2 separate regions of the Homo sapiens genome follow, and region 2 is linked to region 1. The links are contacts of gene promoters, found by promoter capture Hi-C in blood cells and fetal thymus (Javierre and others, 2016). All regions are on one chromosome and are shown on one strand. The core of a region is centred on a gene start or on the middle of the fragment in contact, and the rest is flanking DNA. Distances in the headings are between cores, read along the strand shown. Region 1 holds the start of SLTM (SAFB like transcription modulator). Region 2 has its middle 11 kb from the start of FAM81A.

Evidence for each region. The method cuts DNA at HindIII sites, captures the fragments that hold promoters and counts their contacts. A CHiCAGO score of 5 or more calls a contact.
Region 2: a contact is called between a fragment that was not itself captured here and the fragment with the promoter of SLTM in region 1, in 2 of 17 cell types (erythroblasts and naive B cells). The highest score is 5.2, in erythroblasts.

The regions. Positions count from the first base shown.
Region 1 is chr15:58,932,219-58,935,306 of GRCh38, forward strand. SLTM (SAFB like transcription modulator) reads right to left here and starts at 1,461. Exons shown (of 21, transcript NM_024755.4): 1 at 1,186-1,461; 2 at 138-225. The coding sequence starts at 1,347. RefSeq lists silencers at 818-1,077, 1,448-1,627 and enhancers at 1,128-1,367, 1,658-1,797, 1,818-1,907. The HindIII fragment of the contact is 26,250 bases long and covers 1-3,088 here.
Region 2 is chr15:59,425,422-59,428,509 of GRCh38, forward strand. It overlaps a transcript of FAM81A not described here. Among named protein-coding and RNA genes, the nearest start is that of FAM81A, 11 kb to the right of the region's middle. The HindIII fragment of the contact is 185 bases long and covers 1,376-1,560 here.

The sequences.
Region 1 (3,088 bases), core at 211-2,710:
TCCTTGACCCAAGAAGGCAGACTGCCAGAGGGAAATAGCAAAGAGTAGCACTATATAAACAGGGCAAGAGGCACAAGAGCAGAGGCAAGTTATATAACCAAAATATATTTTAAAACATGTTCATAACTCGTAACAACCTTTGCCTTTAGTTGGTTTCTTGTTTGGAGTATCAGTTGAAACAGTTAATTCAATATTATCTGGATCGCCTCCTTCCTCTTCAATAGCCTACATTAGAAAGAGAAGTTAATATGCTACACAATCTATCTAAACTTATTTTATAAAAACGAAATGAAAAAAAATTTAGCAAACCTCAAGCCTCAAGACATTAGAATTGCCAGTCATTTCATCAACCGACTTCAAAAATGAGCAATTAAACTACACGAAAGAGTGAGAGAAACTTTCAGGGGAAAAAAATCATTAGGTATCAAAATCGCAAGGAGTTTTAAATTCTACCGTGTCAAGATAATTAAATATCACATCATACTGGCCAAAAATCCAAATATGTTCTATTGCAGAAAAGTTGCTAGCTACTAAAGTAAATAACTAAAAAGAGTTTTCCTAGTTTCTGTAATGCAAACTTACTGCTCCTCTGCTACAATTCCAACGCTCACTCAAACCAGAAAGCTAATCAGGAAAGAAAAAGTAATTATTGCGCTGATGCAAAAACTAAAAGCCTAGTGGAAAACAAAAACTCTGTCACCCACCCATCAACTCCCACTACCAATTCCCCCTCAAGATGGGGAAGAAACGGTTGGGCACAATTAAACGGTAACTTCGCAGAAGTCACCAAAGTAACCATTCCCTCTGAGGCCAAGAAATGCACACGCTCACCATGGCTAAAGGCTGGGGAGCCAGCGCCTCCCAGGTCTCCGCGATCGCCCTTGGGAGGCCGCGCCGGCCGGCCGCAACCCTCGCAGCCTGGCGGGGACGTCCCGGGGAGGCGGAGGCACGCTGGGCTGCGGTGGCCGGTCCCTCGCAGGCCCGGCCCGGCCCGGGGCGCGGGGCGGGGGCACCGCGGAAGGGTCCCCGTCCTCCACGCTCGCGGGAGCCGCCCCTGGCCTCCCTACCATGCCGTTCCGCAGGTCCCAGCGGCTGCGGGCAGCCGGAGGCTGCGGCGGAAGCGGGGCGCCGAGGCGCGGCCTAAGTTCCCCTTCCCGGTCCTTTCCGGTCCTCGCCGGGCCTCACCTGCTTGAGTCGGGAGATGAGCACGGTCTTGACTCCGGTGATGTCTAAGTTCCGCCGCTTCAGCTCGGACTTCAGATCGATGACCCGCAGATCGGTGATCTTTTTACCTTCCGCCTGACCCGAGGCGGCCGAGGCTGCCACCGCACCGGTAGCGGCAGCCATCTTAGAAGAGCAGCGCGCTGCCGAGGCAGCGAGTGGGCTGCAGGGCGGCGGCAGCAGCGCCAACTTCCACCCAGGCCTCGGCGGCCGCCGGCGCCGCGCAGCGCTGCGCACAATGAGCCGCTGGCCCCTCCCCCGGTCCGCCACCCTAGCGCAACCTGCAGCAGCAGCCGCCAGCACCCGGATGACGGCCGCGCGTGCGCGTTGGCGCAGGGACCGGCAGCGGCGCGCTCGGTCGAGCGGGCCGCGGCCACTTGGGCGGTGCGCTCCCTTGTGTGGACTGGGAGGTCGGGCACGTCCTACCGCAGCAACGTCCGCCGCGCCGCCGTTCTCTCGTCGCTTCGTTAGCCATTTTCTTGCAACGTCTTGAGTCTTGAGCAACAACGATGTGCGGGCACTGAATGACATAGTGCGCGCGTTACTCAACACAAACCGAGGGGGCGCGTGCGCGCGCTGAACCTCTCAAGGAAATACTTTATCAGTTCTGCTGAATAATCGAAAAATTGTCGCCGGTGTGCACCAACGAACTAGGTTCCCCGAGTTCCATTCAAAAGACCTCAAAGCAGTTCTAGGGCTGTTAGTCCAAAGAATAGGAAGGGCTGGCCTTTGACACATGGCTCATTGGCTGTCTCAGGAGAAAACATCATCGCCCTGCCCATGGCAGCTTAGGTTATTCTAGGGCTGCCCTTCCTCACTTGAAAAACAGGAAAACTTCTTTCTTGTTGGCCTCAGGTTTGCTATCCTCCCCGGTAGACCTGATGGCTCAACACGAAATTGTTCAATGAAAGAGAAAACTAGCTTATAAGTACTTGTTGCCGTTATCATATACTGTGTTCACTATTTTGCCCCCCAAAATTTGGGATTCCAAGAACAGTGAGCATCTTCTTATGGAGGATCGGCCTGTACAAGTGAGTACCTATTTGTAATTTTACCTTGTATTATTCATTATCAAAGTGCAAGCATTGATAAAATAAAACGATTCTATAAATTCCATAAGGTGATTATGATGCACAATTAACTATACTGTATTTCCTGGTTTTACAACTTAAATTCCTGAGATCTGACTCACTTTAGGTTACTTTTTCTGATTGGCTCAAAAAAAAGGAAGACTGGACATTATAAAAGAATACCTGACATTAGGGTAGTTCTTTACAGTTTATAAGGCACTTTGACGTACAGTAACCCCCTTAATCCTTCCCAAGTCTGTCAAGTAAATCTCCGTGAGGCTTAGAGAGATTAAATGACTTGCCCATGTTCACACAGCTGGTATGTGGCCGAGCTGTGCTCAAATCCCAGGCTCCTGATTCCAAATCCAGCTCTGTCTCTGCTACAACATTGGATTCACAATAATAGAAGTTTAGAATGCAAGACTCCTTAGAAATCTTCTGGCCCATCACTTGAGGTCAGGAGTTCAAGACCAAACTGGCCAAGATACAGGGTTTAGTAGAAACCCCGTCTCTACAAAAAATACAAAAATTAGCCGGGTGTGGTGGTGAGCACCTGTAATCCCCGCTACTCGGGAGACTGAGGCAGGAGAATCACCTGAACCCGGAAGGCAGGGGTTGCAGTGAGATCCGGCCGCTGCACTCCACCCTGGGCAACAGAGCAAGATCCTGTCTCAAAAAAAAAAAAAAAGTCTGGGTGCTGTGGCTCATGCCTGTAATCCCTGCACTTTGGGAGGCTGAGGTGGGTGGATCACTAGAGGTCAGAAGTTCAAGACCAGCCTGGCCAACATGGTGAATCC
Region 2 (3,088 bases), core at 218-2,717, 490 kb after region 1:
ATCTGAGTTATGGAAAAAGGCCCCTGACCTTCTGTTATTCATAAGCCTTATTTAAAAATTGCTAAAATAGTTTTTTTCTTTTTTATTGCTTTATAAAGTATTATTACAGTTACACACAGAAAAATCGTACTTTAAATGAATACTCTATCTGGAAAATATTTTTGTTTTAGTAAAATAGGCTTTGCCTTGGCTATTCTTTTATTTGTTTATTTGTTTGTTTTTGAGACAGGATCTCACTCTGTTGCTTATACTGGAGTACAGTGGCATGATCATAGCTCACTGCAGCTTCAAACTGCCAGGCTTAAGTGAGCCTCCTGCCTCAGCCTCCTGAGTAAGTGGGACTACAGGCCTGCATCACCATGACTGGATAATTATTTTATTTTGTAGAGATGGGGGTCTCACTATGCTGCCCAGGCTTGTCTTGAACTCCTGGCCTCAGGCGATCCTCCTGTCTTGGCCTCCTATTGGGTTTACAGGCATAAGCCACTGCACCCAGCTGGCTATTCTATTTTTAATGGGCTCAAACTGAACTTAAAAGTCATCTTCTGATTTTGTTTGGTCAGAAAGTTATTAAAATATATTTGGAACAATTTGCTATGCAGTCAATGAGTTTATGTTCTTTTGAACAAAATTAGTTTTTAAATTAGTCTTTAGTCCTCTAAAAAAGGCTTCATAATGCCATTCTAAAGTGGAAGAATTGTGGTTTGCTAACCACACTTTTTGAATTGTCTCCAAAACAGAAATACAGAAATTATGTCCTGGGAATAAAGGCAGTAAGACTCTTAAAGAAATAACCAGAAGAATTTCAAAATAATAGGTACAAGTACTTTTAAAATATTCTATAATTTATTTCTCCTAACTCTGGATTAAAAAAAAAAATTGGCTCTAAGAAATACACGTACTGACCAGGTGTGATGGCTCTTGCCTGTAATCCTAGCACTTTGGGAGACCGAGGTGGGCGATCACCTGAGGTTGGGAGTTCAAGACCAGCCTGACCAACATGAAGAAACCCCGTCTCTACTTCTCTACTAAAAATACAAAATTAGCCAGGCGTGGTGGCGCATGCCTGTAATCCCAGCTACTGGGAGGCTGAGGCAGGAGAATCGCTTGAACCCAGGAGGCAGAGGTTGCGGTGAACCGAGATTGCGCCACTGTACTCCAGCGTGGGCAACAAGAGCGAAACTCTGTCTCAAAAACACCCAAACAAACAAACAAAGAAATACATGTACTCAGTTTATAAAATCAAACTTGCTTATACTGATGTTTCTTCATCTTTTACTGTTAGACATTATCTAGTCACTTCCTACTAAGGAAGGTGAGGATTTAGTTCTCCAACACGCCTCGACATACCTCTGCCACATACACTTCCCCCCTAAGCTTCTCAATAGAGTGACATAGCAATCTTTCATTAAACCAACACTCAGTAACATATTTACATTATAACTATTGTTCACAGCTGAGTCAAGTATGATTGAACACATTTCTTTTAACTCTTAGCATTAAGCATTGCCTTTTCTTGGGCTATTAGTTTTTTATGCACATATCACTAGTTCATCTATAAGCTTTCTGACAGAACTGTAATTCCCTTCGCTAAGATCAAACATATCAGACAATCTGTTTCTGTTTCTTTCTCCCATTTGCCTGGGAGTGACCTCCCTATAGTGCTCTACTTCTTGGTTTTATTTTATTTTATTTTTTATTTTTGGGAGCACCGAGTCTCACTCTGTCACCCAGGCTGGAGTGCAGTGGCCTGATCTCGGCTCACTGCAGCCTCCGCCTCCTGGGTTCAAGTGATTCTCCTGCTTCAGCCTCCTGAGCAGCTGGGATCACAGGTGCATGCCACCAAGCCCAGCTAATTTTTGTATTTTTAGTAGAGACGGGGTTTCTCCATGTTGGCCAGGCTGGTCTTAAACTCCTGACCTCAAGTGATTTGCTTGTCTCAGCCTCCCAAAGTGCTGGGATTACAGGCTTGAGCCACCATGCCTCGCCTCTTTTAGCTATTTTTAAATGTGCAATTAAATGATTATTGACCTATTGATAGCAAAAGTTACCCTGTTGTGCTATGAAATACTAGATCTTATTTATTCTGTTTTTTTAATACTCATTAACCATCCACACTGCCCCGCTAGGCCCCACTCTCCTTCCTAGCATCTGGTAACTGCCATTCTACCGTCTATCTCCATGAGTTCAATTGTTTTAATTTTTAGCTCCCACAAATGAGTGAGAACATGCAAAGTTTGTCTTTCTGTGCCTGTTTTATTTTACTTAACATAATGACCTCCAGTTCCATCCATGTTGTTGTAAATGACAGGATCTCATTCTTTTTTATGGCTAAATAGTATTCCATTGTGTATAGGTACCATATTTTCTTTATCCATTCATCTGCTGAATACACTTAGGTTGCTTCCAAATTTTTGTTATTGTGAATAGTGCTGTGATAAACATAAGAGTGCAGATATCTCTTCGATATACTGATTTCCTTTCTTTTGGGTATGTATCTGGCAGTGAAACTGCTGGGTCATATGATAGCTCTATTTTTAGATTTTTGAAGAACTTCCAAACTGTTCTCCATAGTGGCTGTGCTAATTTACATTTCTACCAACAGTGTACGAGGATTCCCTCTTCTGCACATCTTTGCCAGCGTTTGTTATTGCCTTTTAGGATAAAAGCCGTTTTAACTCGGGTGAGATGATGTCTCACTGTAGTTTTGATTTGTGTTTCTCTGATGATCAGTGATGTTGAGCACCTTTTCATACACCTGTTTGCCATTTCTATGTCTTCTTGTGAGAAATGTCTATTCAGATCTTTTGTCCATTTTAAATTGGATTATTAGATATTTTTCCTATAGAGTTGGTTGCATTCCTTACATATTGTGATTATTAATTCCTTGTCAGATGAGTCCTCTACTTAATCCAATCTGCAGTGATTGCTCTCCATCAGACCTGCTTGACATCACTCTGGGGCTTTTCTTAGTCCTGAGAATTCTTTTTGATATTATTATTATTATTATTATTATTATTATTATTATTATTATTTTGAGACAGAGTCTTACTATGTTGCCCAGGCTGGTCTCAAATTCCTGGGCTCA